Linked DNA regions of Homo sapiens: region 1 is linked to region 2. Evidence: promoter capture Hi-C in 16 types of primary human blood cells and fetal thymus (Javierre and others, 2016). All regions are on one chromosome and are shown on one strand. Each heading gives the region's core, a stretch centred on a gene start or on the middle of the fragment in contact. The rest is flanking DNA. Distances are from core to core; before and after follow the strand shown.

Evidence for each region. Contacts are between HindIII fragments. The CHiCAGO score rates a contact against its expected background, and 5 or more counts as called.
Region 1: a contact is called between the fragment with the promoter of PLCD4 here and the fragment with the promoter of PRKAG3 in region 2, in 2 of 17 cell types (erythroblasts and activated CD4 T cells). The highest score is 6.5, in erythroblasts.

The regions. Positions count from the first base shown.
Region 1 is chr2:218,605,829-218,611,449 of GRCh38, reverse strand. PLCD4 (phospholipase C delta 4) reads right to left here and starts at 3,551. Exons shown (of 16, transcript NM_032726.4): 1 at 3,380-3,551. The HindIII fragment of the contact is 12,670 bases long and covers 3,061-5,621 here.
Region 2 is chr2:218,829,448-218,835,782 of GRCh38, reverse strand. PRKAG3 (protein kinase AMP-activated non-catalytic subunit gamma 3) reads left to right here and starts at 3,980. Exons shown (of 14, transcript NM_017431.4): 1 at 3,980-4,045; 2 at 4,408-4,447; 3 at 4,882-5,037; 4 at 5,402-5,805. The coding sequence starts at 4,013. The HindIII fragment of the contact is 3,600 bases long and covers 1,195-4,794 here.

The sequences.
Region 1 (5,621 bases), core at 2,302-4,801, 220 kb after region 2:
GAAGATTGCATTACCTTCCCTTACGCCTGTGTCCAGGAGCCTCACAATGATGTCCTGAAACATGGGAAGCCTGAGAACCGAGCCCAAGTGCCTGAACACCCTTACTTTGGAGACTCCCTCCTCTCAAACCTGCCTTAGAAAATTATTTTTTCCTCCTTTGTCCAATTCTTCTAACCCCAAAGCTTGGCTTTGTTCTTCCAATCCTTCTCCCATTCATGAATCACTATTTTAAATCTGTATTCACATGACTGACATGTGGTCATAAGAGGGCCAGTTTCAAATCAGGGAGCCATAGAAGGTCAGAGCTGGACTTCATTTTATAGAAAAGGAGCCCGAGGACTAGAAAGGTTAGGTGAAGTAAAAAGAATTAGTGCCAGAGTCATTTAATGAGTGACAGAACTGGAATTAGAACCAAGGTCTCTGGCCGGGCACGGTAGCTCACATCTGTAATCCCAGCACTTTGGGGGGCTGAGATGGGCAGATCATGTAAGGCCAGGAGTTCGAGACCAGCCTGACCGACATGGTGAAACCCCTTCTCTACTAAAAATACAAAAATTAGCTGGGAGTAGTGGTGCACACCTATAATCTCCGCTACTTGGGAGGCTGAGGCAGGAGAATTGCTTGAACCCAGGAGGCGGAGGCTGCAGTGAGCCGAGATGGCGCCATTGCACTGCAGCCTGGGCAACAAAAGCAAAACTCTGTCTTGGGCAGGAGGAAAAAAAAAAGAACCCAGGTCTCCATACAACCAGCTCAAGGATCTCACAATGACTCTGCTCTTGGAAAGGGCCTTCTCTAGAAAACAGTTGAAGCAAGGCTAGGAATCAATAAGGGACATTGGTATTTTGTCTCTCCTCTCCATCACTTTCTGTTCCCTCTGTACTCTGAATAGTCTTGCTTTTCTTTGGTCTCATTTTCTTTATTTCTATTTATTTATTTTTTTTTGAGACGGAGTGTCACTCTGTCGCCCAGGCTGGAGTGCAGTGGCATGATGTTGGCTCACTGCAACCTCCGCCTCCTGGGTTCAAGTGATTCTCCTGCCTCAGCCTCCCAAGTAGCTGGGATTACAGGTGTGTGCCACCACGCCTGGCTAATTTTTTTTATTTTTAGTAGAGACGGGGTTTCACTATGTTGGCCAGGCTGGTCTCAAACTCCTGACCTCAGATGATCCACCCGCCTCAGCCTCCCTAAGTGCTGGGGTTACAGGGGTGAGCCACCATGCCCAGCCTCTTTCATCTCATTTTCTTTCCTTTCCCTATCCCATGCCTGACCTGGTCCTTTTCCTTTCTTCCCAGTTCACTATAAAAAAAATTTTTTTTAAATTATTATTTGTTTTGTATGGAGATGGGGTCTCCCTGTGTAGCCCTAGTTTTAAACTCCTGGCCTCAAGCAATCCTCCTGCCTGGGCTTCCCAAAGTGCTGGGATTACAGGCGTGAGCCATCATGCCCAGCCCCATCCCCACCTCTCTCTCTCTCTTAATCCTCTGTCTTCCTGTTTGCTCACCTAGGTCAGTCTCTCCTCTTCTCTTCCTTCTCCTCATCCCTTCTCCCCATCACCTCTTCCAGTTGGTTCCCTCTTTTGACTCCACTAATTCGCAATGGCTCTGAGTCTCATCTCCTTTGAGAATTTTGAGACTGTGGTCCAGAAGGGAGGACACTTGGGTTCAGAACTCAGTAGCATGCGTGTCCCTCTGCTCAGCCTCACTTTTCTCTGTATCCTAGGAGATTGACCAAACAAACTGCCCAGACAATGTGAGTTAGAACCTAGGTATTCTAGGTCTTGCTGTTTCCTCTGGTGTCTAATGGTAGAATGGGAAGGATGCCCACAGCTGATGCAGGTGCAATGAGAAGAGAAGGAACAAAGGGTTTGGGAGTGAGGGCACTGGGAAAAACACAGAGGATGACATCTGATAATAAGAAAGGTTGGTCTTAAATATTAACTCATAGACACATATATGGAGATCTTCAATGATATGGTAATTACCTCTCTAATACAGATACGAAAATAGGGACACAAAATGAGATGGGAAGTAGCCCAGAGCTGCAGAGCGCAATTTGGTCCTCAATTTCTAAGAGACTTCATGTCACCTAGAGATGGACTTTGGCAGAGTTACCAATGGCACCAAGGAGATTACAGTGGGATTCAGGGTGTCTCAGGTCTCTCTGAGGGGCAAGAAAGAAGAGAATCATTTTGTCTACTCCCTTGCTTCTGAGAAGGATTATGCCTAACCTGGTTCATATAGAGGACAAATTGGCTCTGGTCACAGGTCACAGAATGTTGGAGCTTGAAGGTTCTTTTTTTTTTTTTTTTTGAGACAGAGTCTCGCTGTCGCCCAGGCTGGAGTGCAGTGGTGCGATCTTGGCTCACTGCAGGCTCCGCCCCCCGGGGTTCACGCTATTCTCCTGCCTCAGCCTCCCGAGTAGCTGGGACTACAGGCACCCGCCACCCACCTCGCCCGGCTAATTTTTTGTATTTTCAGTAGAGACGGGGTTTCACCATGTTAGCCAGGATGGTCTCAATCTCCTGACCTCGTGATCCACCCGCCTCGGCCTCCCAAAGTGCTGGGATTACAGGTGTGAGCCACCGCGCCCGGCCAGTTCTTTTATAACACATCTAATCCAGACATTCCCAGCTACATCAATAGCCTCTGGAATGTCTTGAAATTGAGATCCTTAGCCCTACCCAAAAATCTACCAGATCAGAGTTACCCAGGGTGGGGCTCAATAATATATTTATTTTTAACAAGTACACTTGGTACACAGGCAAGTCTGGGAAACCCTAAACTCTCTCGTATCACAGATCTGGAAGTTGTGGCTCCAGGTCCCGTAGCTAGTTAATGGCACAGGCAGAACTAGAAGTAGGTTTTCTTACCAACGTAGCACTCTGGTGCACTAAGAAACTGCTCTGGCCCATGGAATAGGCAAAGAACAAGTTCTTTAGAGAACTTTCTAAGGGACTTTCATAACTCTCTCTATTACCAGGGATCTCTGATTCCCCATGGTTCTTGGCCAACCCCTATTTTGCAACCCTCAACAAACTGTTAATGAATCTATGCTAAAGCTTAGCTACTCCAATTTTTTCTTCCCTTATTGGGGGTGGAGTTCACCTCAGGAGTGGCTAGGGTTGGCACTTCTGGCCCTGCATAAGCTAAGAGGTACCTCATATAAAGGGCGACTGACACAGCCAGGAGGAAAGCTGTAAGGATAAAGGAGGATAAGCTAGAGAGAACCAGGAGGTGGGAGCCCTGTAGAGCTGTTGGGATGAGGAAAGGAGTCTAGGGTACAATTTAATCAGGGTGGATAAGCATCTAGAGGGCAGAGGTAGGGACTCAGGGAAGACAGAGCTTAGAGCAGAGGGTAGTCAGAGCTTCCAGATCCTTACCGTGGGCAGGAGAGCAGAATAGCAGTCCTGTGTTTCCTGTGTCTGTGAGCTGTGCCTCCCGAGCTCTGCGATGCTGTGGGATCAGGAAGCCCAGCCTGGCTCCTTTTCTCTTTTGCTCCCCTTGCACTGGCTTGTTTCCTCCCCTCTTCTACAGCAGCTGGCTGCTGTGACTGGCAAGTTATAGCCGGAGGGAAGCAGTAAGAAGGGGAGAGGTGTGAGCTCTCTCCAGTCCAGCCCATCCAACTCTTAAAGGCCCAGGACACTGGTCAATGTGAGGGAGTAGTGGGGGTGGGGTGGGGAGAGAAGGATTAAGGGCAGCACATCTCCAGGGAGGAGCCTGGCTGCCCTTCATCTTGATGCCAGCCCTCATTGACCCCAATCCCGCAGTAGCTCTCAAAGTGAAGGGAGTGTCCTCAGTTGCAGTGCTCTGTGAATCACTGCTTTTCATTCTGGTTCCTGCATGTAATACGGCTGTTTTTGCCCTTATTTAATCTGGCTCCTTTCCATAGTGTCTGTTTCCACTGGCCTGCTCCTGTATCTCTGAATCCTGCCTGCAGGGCACTCACTGTAGCTCCGTCCCACAGGAAAAGAAAGAAATAAGATGGGAAAAGAGGAAGACGAGGAGAAGGGGAGGACAGGAATGATGATAGAATGTAGAGGGACAGATAGGTTAGAATCTATGTATATTTTAGGCACTCATTAAATATTGAAAGAATGCATAGATGAACGTGTGAAACAGCTCATTTTTTTTTAAACATCCATTCGTTCCTCCTACAAGCATCTGTTCAGCACCTCTGGGTTATAAGTCATAGCCCTCAGAATGGAGGTAGCACCTTCAGGACATACATGCATGTTTATAAAGATGTGTGCAGAGATGAAGCATAGGCTCAGAGGGGAACTGTGTGAAATGGTGTAATTTTAAGTGTGCTGACGTCTGGCTGCCTATCATGGTTTCCACAAGCATCCCTCAACTGCCTAATATTTTACCATTAGTGATTATAGCTACATTTTTTAGTCCCATTAAAATAAAATCCTCCTAAGTGATTACTATAAAAGTCAGGATAGTGGTTACTGTTGGGAGGGGGAGGAATTGTGGTGAGATGGGACACAGAGGGGGCTTCTGGCATAGCTAGCTAAACTCTATTTCTAGTTCTAAGTGCTAACAAGGGTCTTCACTTAATAATTTATTAAGCTATACATTCTCTTGATATATTTTCTATATGTGTTTTTAAATTTATTTTTTTAGGTCTCATTTAAAATATCATATATCTGTGTTAACTTTTGAAGGCTTAATGATTTTAAATATACATATATGTATATGTATATGTGTGTGTGTGTATATATATATATATATATATTTTTTTTTTTTTTTTTTTTTTTTTTTGAGATAAGAGTCTCGCTGTTGCCCAGGCTGGAGTGCAATGGCGTGATCTTGGCTTACTGCAACCTCTACCTCCCGGGTTCAAGCAATTCTCCTGTCTCAGCCTCCTGAGTAGCTGGGATTACAGGTGCATGCCACCACCCCCAGCTACTTTTTTTTGTATTTTAGTAGAGACGGGGTTTCACCGTGTTGCCCAGGCTGGTCTTGAGCTCCTGAGCTCAGGCAATCCACCTGCCTTGGCCTCCCAAAGTGCTAGGATTACAGGCGTAAGCCACTGCACCCAGCCGATTATAAATAATTTTTTAAAAATTCAATCCTAAGGTCAAAGTAGATTTTAAATAATTTATACCTAGGTTGGGTTGTCTATATTCTTTACTGAGAGCAGGTTTTGATAGAAGAGTAGTAGTATGAAGGAAGGGGACACATTAGGAGGGAGGCCATTCATGGGGAACAGGAAGATTGGGGGGCATCGTAGTTTAAACTGTGCTGATTTCAGATTTGACTTAATAGAGGCCCTGTTTTACATGCTTGTCTTGCTCTCCCATTTCTACTTCCCCAACATGGCCAGCTTATTTTTCCAAGCCTCACCTTCACAGTCCACACTCCTCTTCTATACCCCCAGATTATATACCATCTTTCTGAGTCACTATTTGCATCAATTTAATGCTGCCCAACCTCCTTCCCTCTTGGGTAATCTGTGAGGGGTGTTATCACTCATAGTGGATTTTCTGGGAGAGTCTAGATCTCAAATATTCTGTTTCAATGTTCCCATGAATACAACAGTATTCTTCAGCCCATATGTTCTGATTTTTGGGGCAGGGACTTGGAGACTTTCACAAGGTTAGTATGGTTCCAGAGTGC
Region 2 (6,335 bases), core at 2,731-5,230:
ACCTTCAGGCAGCTCCACTCTGCATAGTAGCATCCAGAATCTCCACACTTACATCCTTACAGTTCCAAAGGCAGTGGGAAAGAGTTTCTAACTCCAGCAAAAGTCCCAGGATTCACCCCTATTGGACTAATTCTGTCAATGCCCACTTCACTGTGGCCAGAGGCATTTGGAGTGCTAATTGGCTACAACTGAACCAGAGGAATACTTCGTGGAACCCACAGTTGAGCCCTTCTGAAAATCATGTGCTGCAGGTGAATTGAGGGAATGTGGTTTCCTAAAGGAAAACCCAGAAGTTTGCCAAAAGATGGGGTAAATGGATACTGGGTATAGAAAAGCAACAACTGTCCACTACAATTCCCAATTGCTCACAGAAAAAGACTCAGTAATGGGGCCTGTGGCGCAGACTAAATTGCATTAACAAGGTGCTGGTTCTTTCCAGGTCCTTCAGACATTTGCACAGATGCTGCTCCGTCTAGCCACACACAAACAGGACAGAGCAGTTGTGTCCTGTGATGGATATGAAGGCTGCTCTCCCAGCCTCCCAACTGCTCTGGCCTAGGGGACCCTATTTGTGATTTATTCAGTAATGGGTCTCATCCAGGCTACTCTCTTGGCCTCCTCAAGCTGTTTTTCCTCCTCCTGATATAAAAATAACACTTAAACAGGTTCCCCAACCCCATGTCCGAGACAAATCAGATCTCCAGAGATAGCAGCCAAATTCACCCTAGGGTCAGGGTGCAGGGTCCTTATTATATACCCAGTCTGCGAGTGAGCCAAGAAGTAGGGTTTCCAGAAATATGATGCCATGGCCAGAGGCTAAAATCAATCACCCGAGGAGTATTTATTACCCAACTGAAGCCAGTACCTCCTGCTGATTTGCCCTGCCAGACGATGAGTGGAGGCAGGCTTGTGGTCAGAGCAGGGTGGAGATCTGAGAGGCGAAAGGCAGGTGTAGGGTGAGAGAAGGGGCAAGGCAGAGCTCTTCTTGAAAACTGTGAAGTTGCTATGCTTTTAGTGTTGAGCAGTGCTGGTGTGTACCCCCAGCTGGAGTCCTCCTCCACCCCAACCTTGACAGCAGCAGGAGATGGCTACTGAAGGGTCAGAGCCCTCCCGTGCCTGCCTGCCTGCCTGCCTGCCTTCAAAGCCTCATGGTTGGAGGTATAGAGGGGGCAGGTCTGTGTCTTCCATAAAGCTTAGTGGTTATAAATGTGGTGCCTGAGTCTGGGTTTGATTCTTGGCTCCATCCCACTAGCTTTGAGATTTTGATCAAGTTACTTAATCTATTTATGCCTTGGTTTTGTCATCTGTAAAATTGTAATAGTCAAAGTATTTCCCTCACAGGGTTGCAAGGGATTACACAGGACATGGCATATAATGTGTTTTGCACAGTGTGTAGTAGACACTAAGCACTGCACGAACATGCAGGGTCATTATCTACATATGTAATTCCTAATCCTACCTCAATCCTGCAACGTAGATGTATTAGTTAGAGAGAGGCTTGGCTGCTATAACAAAGGTTCAATTTGTCGATCGTTTAAACAAGACAGAAATTTATTTATCTCTAACATAACAATCCAGAGGTAGGCAGACCAGGACAGGGGTGGGGGATGTTCTATCATTTTCAAACTGCATTTTCCATCGTTGGGTTCAGTTTGCTGCTCCGGCTCCCATCATCGTATTGTAATTCTAGCCAGTAAGAAAGGGTTCCCTTTCCTCCTAGGGGTACCCTTCTATCATATAATATATATGTATATAACATTGCTGCTCAAATTTCATGGTCAAACTTAGTCATATGGCCATACTATCTGCAAAAGAAGCTGTGAAATATAATCTTGCATTCAGTTAAAATTGTAGTGGTTTACTAACAGCAGAAGAAGGGTAGAAGAGATATTGCTCTACTAGAGCTCACCCATCTGGCCATCCCACACAAAAAACACAGTTACTGCCCTTCAAAAGGAGGCAAGTCAGAGTTCCATCTGAGTACGGCACCCAGCTGAGAGTCCAGGCTATCTGAGGGGTGGGCAGTTCCTTCTTCCAGGTAGATGGACACCCTATGGTCTGGTGACCTAAAAACTAACAGGCAGGTGATTTGCACCTCCTACTCCCCACAGACAACAGTGGAGGAAGAAGAGGGTAAGCTCAATTAAAACACTGACTCATGCTGAGCACACTGCTACGCGCCTATAGTCCCAGCTACTGAGATAGGAGGATCATTGAGCCCAGGAGTTTGAGACTAGCGTGGACAACATAGTGAGACACTGTCTCAAAAAAAAAAATCCACTTGCAACTGAAAGAATGGCAAACACCCAGCAGCTGCTGGATCTTAATTATCAAATCTGGTTGGGCAGGAATGGCTAAGCCCTTTCCTGGCAGTGGAGTAAGTTCTTGGTCAGCACATTTGACCACCCCTGGTTCTGCTCTCTGGGAAGATCTCCCCTTTCCACTCTCCTATGTAGCCTCTGGCTTTTCCTGCTGGGAAGCTGTTGTTTATCCAATATCCTTTGTCCCACACTGGCAAACTTGTGCTTTCTGCAGTCCTTCCAGCCTTCACAGCCCTCTTCCTGCTGGTGCGGATTTGGAGGGCTGGGAATAAGGCAAGGGAAGGGGTGTCAAACCAGGCTTTGCTGATCAGGCTTATGGTTTCTTTGCCAATACAACACCCTCACAATCTTAGAAGCCTTCTGAGTGGCTCCATGTTTGAGTAACCACAGCCAATGGCCTCATGTAGACCTTATTTTTATGCTTGAACACTCTGGACTTGGTGTTCTTCCTACTCTCCTTTCTCTCAAACTGGTGGTGGCTATCTTGAGTCCATTTGAAAAAACATGCTTGGTGTGAAGGAAATTCTCTTACACTGATCTCTGTCCTCTGAGCCAGTTCCCACTGTCCAGTGAGCAGATGTCCTTGAGAAAGGCTGGGGACCACAGGAACAGCCCTGGCCAAGGCTGTCCTCCCAACTCCATTCTCCTCCACCCTCCCCATTGGCAGAGTAGGAACATTGAGGGTTGATGGAAAACACATGTAATAAACTCAGACAGAAATTCACCAGTCTGTTGTTGAGTGTCCACTCCAGGGCCAGGGCTGGGATGGAAGAGGCTGGAAGGAGGAGAGAAAGGGAGGGGCAGAGAGAGGAAAGCCGGAGCAGCTGGGTCAGCATTCCCAATCCGGACATTGACTCAGGCTCCGGGAATGCCAAGGAAGAGGGTGGCAGCTACTGGAGCCAGGCTGGGATCCTGTTGGCACCAGGGATGTAGGCACAGCACTCACAGAGGGTTGGGGGCTGGGACACCTGCACACCCAGGCATATCTCCCAACCACAGGTGGAAACAGATGTCTCTTCCCCTGCGGGGAGCTCTGAGTGCTCCCCACGCCTTCGAGGTGATTCTCACAGCTCTTCACCTGCCTGAAACACCCACTCCATCTCCTTCACCTGAGAGAGGGACACACTCCAGGGACTCAAATCTGGACATCTGGACATACACTAGCTGCTCTCCTGGACTACCCACAAACCCCTTGCCTCATCTCCAGCCTCTGAGCTGGCTGCAACTTGCCCTTTCTAACTCCAGCACCACCCTCTACTGAAATTAGAACAAGGAAGAAAGTTATGCTGATCTGCCTCCATGTTCCCTTCTTTGGTGCCTGATAAAGATGAGGGAGGCTCTTGGAATAGGGGCTCAGGACTCTGAGAGCCCAACTCTGCTCAATGACCATGTTCCCACATGCTCCAAGCCACATCCCCTCAAAAAGGGTCCCTCTAGCTTGTCCTCAGTGACCCAGGAGGCAGCTGAGGACCAAGTACCCAGATTATCCGGTGCGCCCCTTCCCTCCCAGCAACCCCCAGCCTTCAGGGCTGTAGCAGCTGAGCAAATGGGGGCCCCTCCCTCTCATTGCCTGACACCCAATCAGAGAGAAACCGATCCTGGCAGGGCAGGGTGCCCGGGGCCGGGCCCAGAATAGTGCAGCCCAGCCACAGTGTCGCACACTTGCTCTCAGTTGGTCTGGGGCTGGCCACATGGAGCCCGGGCTGGAGCACGCACTGCGCAGGGTATGGGGGTCCCAGGGGAGCCGGAGCCGGGGCAGCTGAGGCCAGAAGATTGAGCGCACGGGCTGTGAATGTGTGTGTGGGCGTGTGTGTCTTCTGGTGTGTGTTTGGTCTGGATTTTCTCGTGAATATGGGCATGTGCATGTTTGGGCATATGTATTGTGAGTGTGTGTGGTTCTGTGTGCCTGGGAGTGTTTGGATGTGTGTGTTTCTGTGTGTGTTTGTGTATGGCTGCATGTCTGTGTATGGCGTGTGTCTGAGCGTGTGTATTGGTGTGCATGGGTGTGTAGGCGTGTGTTCAGGGAGAAGGGGTTTGGGAATGTAAGGCACTTTCCCCACTCCTTCAGAAACTCTTCTCCCCACAGACCCCTTCCTGGAGCAGCCTTGGGGGTTCTGAGCATCAAGGTAGGGAGAATGCCCCCTCCCTGGGGCCTAACCTCTTCCCCCACCTCCTTGTCCCCCACTTTTCTGGGACCCCAATTCCCTCCCAGCCTGGCTTTTATCTTCCTCCTTTTGGTCTTTCTTCCTCATTGTTCTTCCTCCTTTCCCCAGGTGTGTTTCCCTCACCTCCAATTTCCTCTTTTCAGAAGTGACTTTCCCACTTACTTGCTGTGTGATTTGCAGCAAATTGCTTAACCTCTCTGAATTTCTGGTCCCTCACTAGCAAAATAGGGATGATAATAATGCCTGCTTTATAAGGCTGCTGTAAGTTTTAAATGAGAAATATGTTGGAGAAAAGCCCATTGGAAGCTTGCAAATCCTAAAGATTATGAATAACATTTGAATTGATTTTGATGCATTACTCCCTATTAACCAAACAGGCCCCATTCCCCTTCCAGAGATGAGCTTCCTAGAGCAAGAAAACAGCAGCTCATGGCCATCACCAGCTGTGACCAGCAGCTCAGAAAGAATCCGTGGGAAACGGAGGGCCAAAGCCTTGAGATGGACAAGGCAGAAGTCGGTGGAGGAAGGGGAGCCACCAGGTCAGGGGGAAGGTGAGGCCAAGGCCAGTTCTGGGGAGGTGGGAGCCAGGGGAGTGGGAAATCCCAGAGGAGCCTGGGTCTGGTCTCTACCTCAGGTCCCTCCATAACACAGAGTTGGACCCAACCTTCATCTTGTGGCCTCAGTCTCCCTACATAGTAGAGAACAAGGCACTGCAGTGCCAGAGGCCAGCATGGCCAACTCAGAAAGATGGGACAGAGCCACTACCTGGGGCGACTCTCAGGTCAGCCCCTCACCTGCAAATAGGGCCACAGCATCCAGGCTTCCCACTGCTGCTGTGAGATGAATGGCGACAGCAGATGAGAACGTGCTTTGGAAGATGGAGTTACTGTCCTCTTCCCCTCCTCCCCCAAACAGGTCCCCGGTCCAGGCCAGCTGCTGAGTCCACCGGGCTGGAGGCCACATTCCCCAAGACCACACCCTTGGCTCAAGCTGATCCTGCCGGGGTGGGCACTCCACCAACAGGGTGGGACTGCCTCCCCTCTGACTGTACAGCCTCAGCTGCAGGCTCCAGCACAGATGATGTGGAGCTGGCCACGGAGTTCCCAGCCACAGAGGCCTGGGAGTGTGAGCTAGAAGGCCTGCTGGAAGAGAGGCCTGCCCTGTGCCTGTCCCCGCAGGCCCCATTTCCCAAGCTGGGCTGGGATGACGAACTGCGGAAACCCGGCGCCCAGATCTACATGCGCTTCATGCAGGAGCACACCTGCTACGATGCCATGGCAACTAGCTCCAAGCTAGTCATCTTCGACACCATGCTGGAGGTGAGGCCACGGCTCTGCCCAACCTGTACTCACTCTCCATCCACACGGTGCTGCAGCCGCCACTCCCACCCTGCAGGATGCCCTGCTGAGCCAGGTGCCCCTGCAAGCCCCCTGAAAGGACTCCTTCTTAGCACTATGGAGGCCAGTTGGGGGAGGGACAGCTTCTACTCTCTGTTAGCACACGTAATTGTCATCACAGCTCTGCCACTTAGTAGCTGTAGGACCTTGAGTTACATTACCTTTCTTGTCTCTAAAATGGGGATCGAAATGCCTGCTGCACCCTACATAGTTCAGAGGATTCTTGGACTACCCAGTATAAAGCGTGAACAAAGTATGTGTAAGACATTGCAGAGGCCGGGCACGGTGGCTCATGTCTGTAATCCCAGCACTTTAGGAGGTCGAGGTGGGCAAATCACAAGGTCAGGAGTTCGAGACCGGCCTGACCAACATGGTGAAACCCCATCTCTACTAAAAAAAAAAATACAAAAAATTAGCCGGCCGTGGTGGTGGGCGCCTGTAATCCCAGCTAC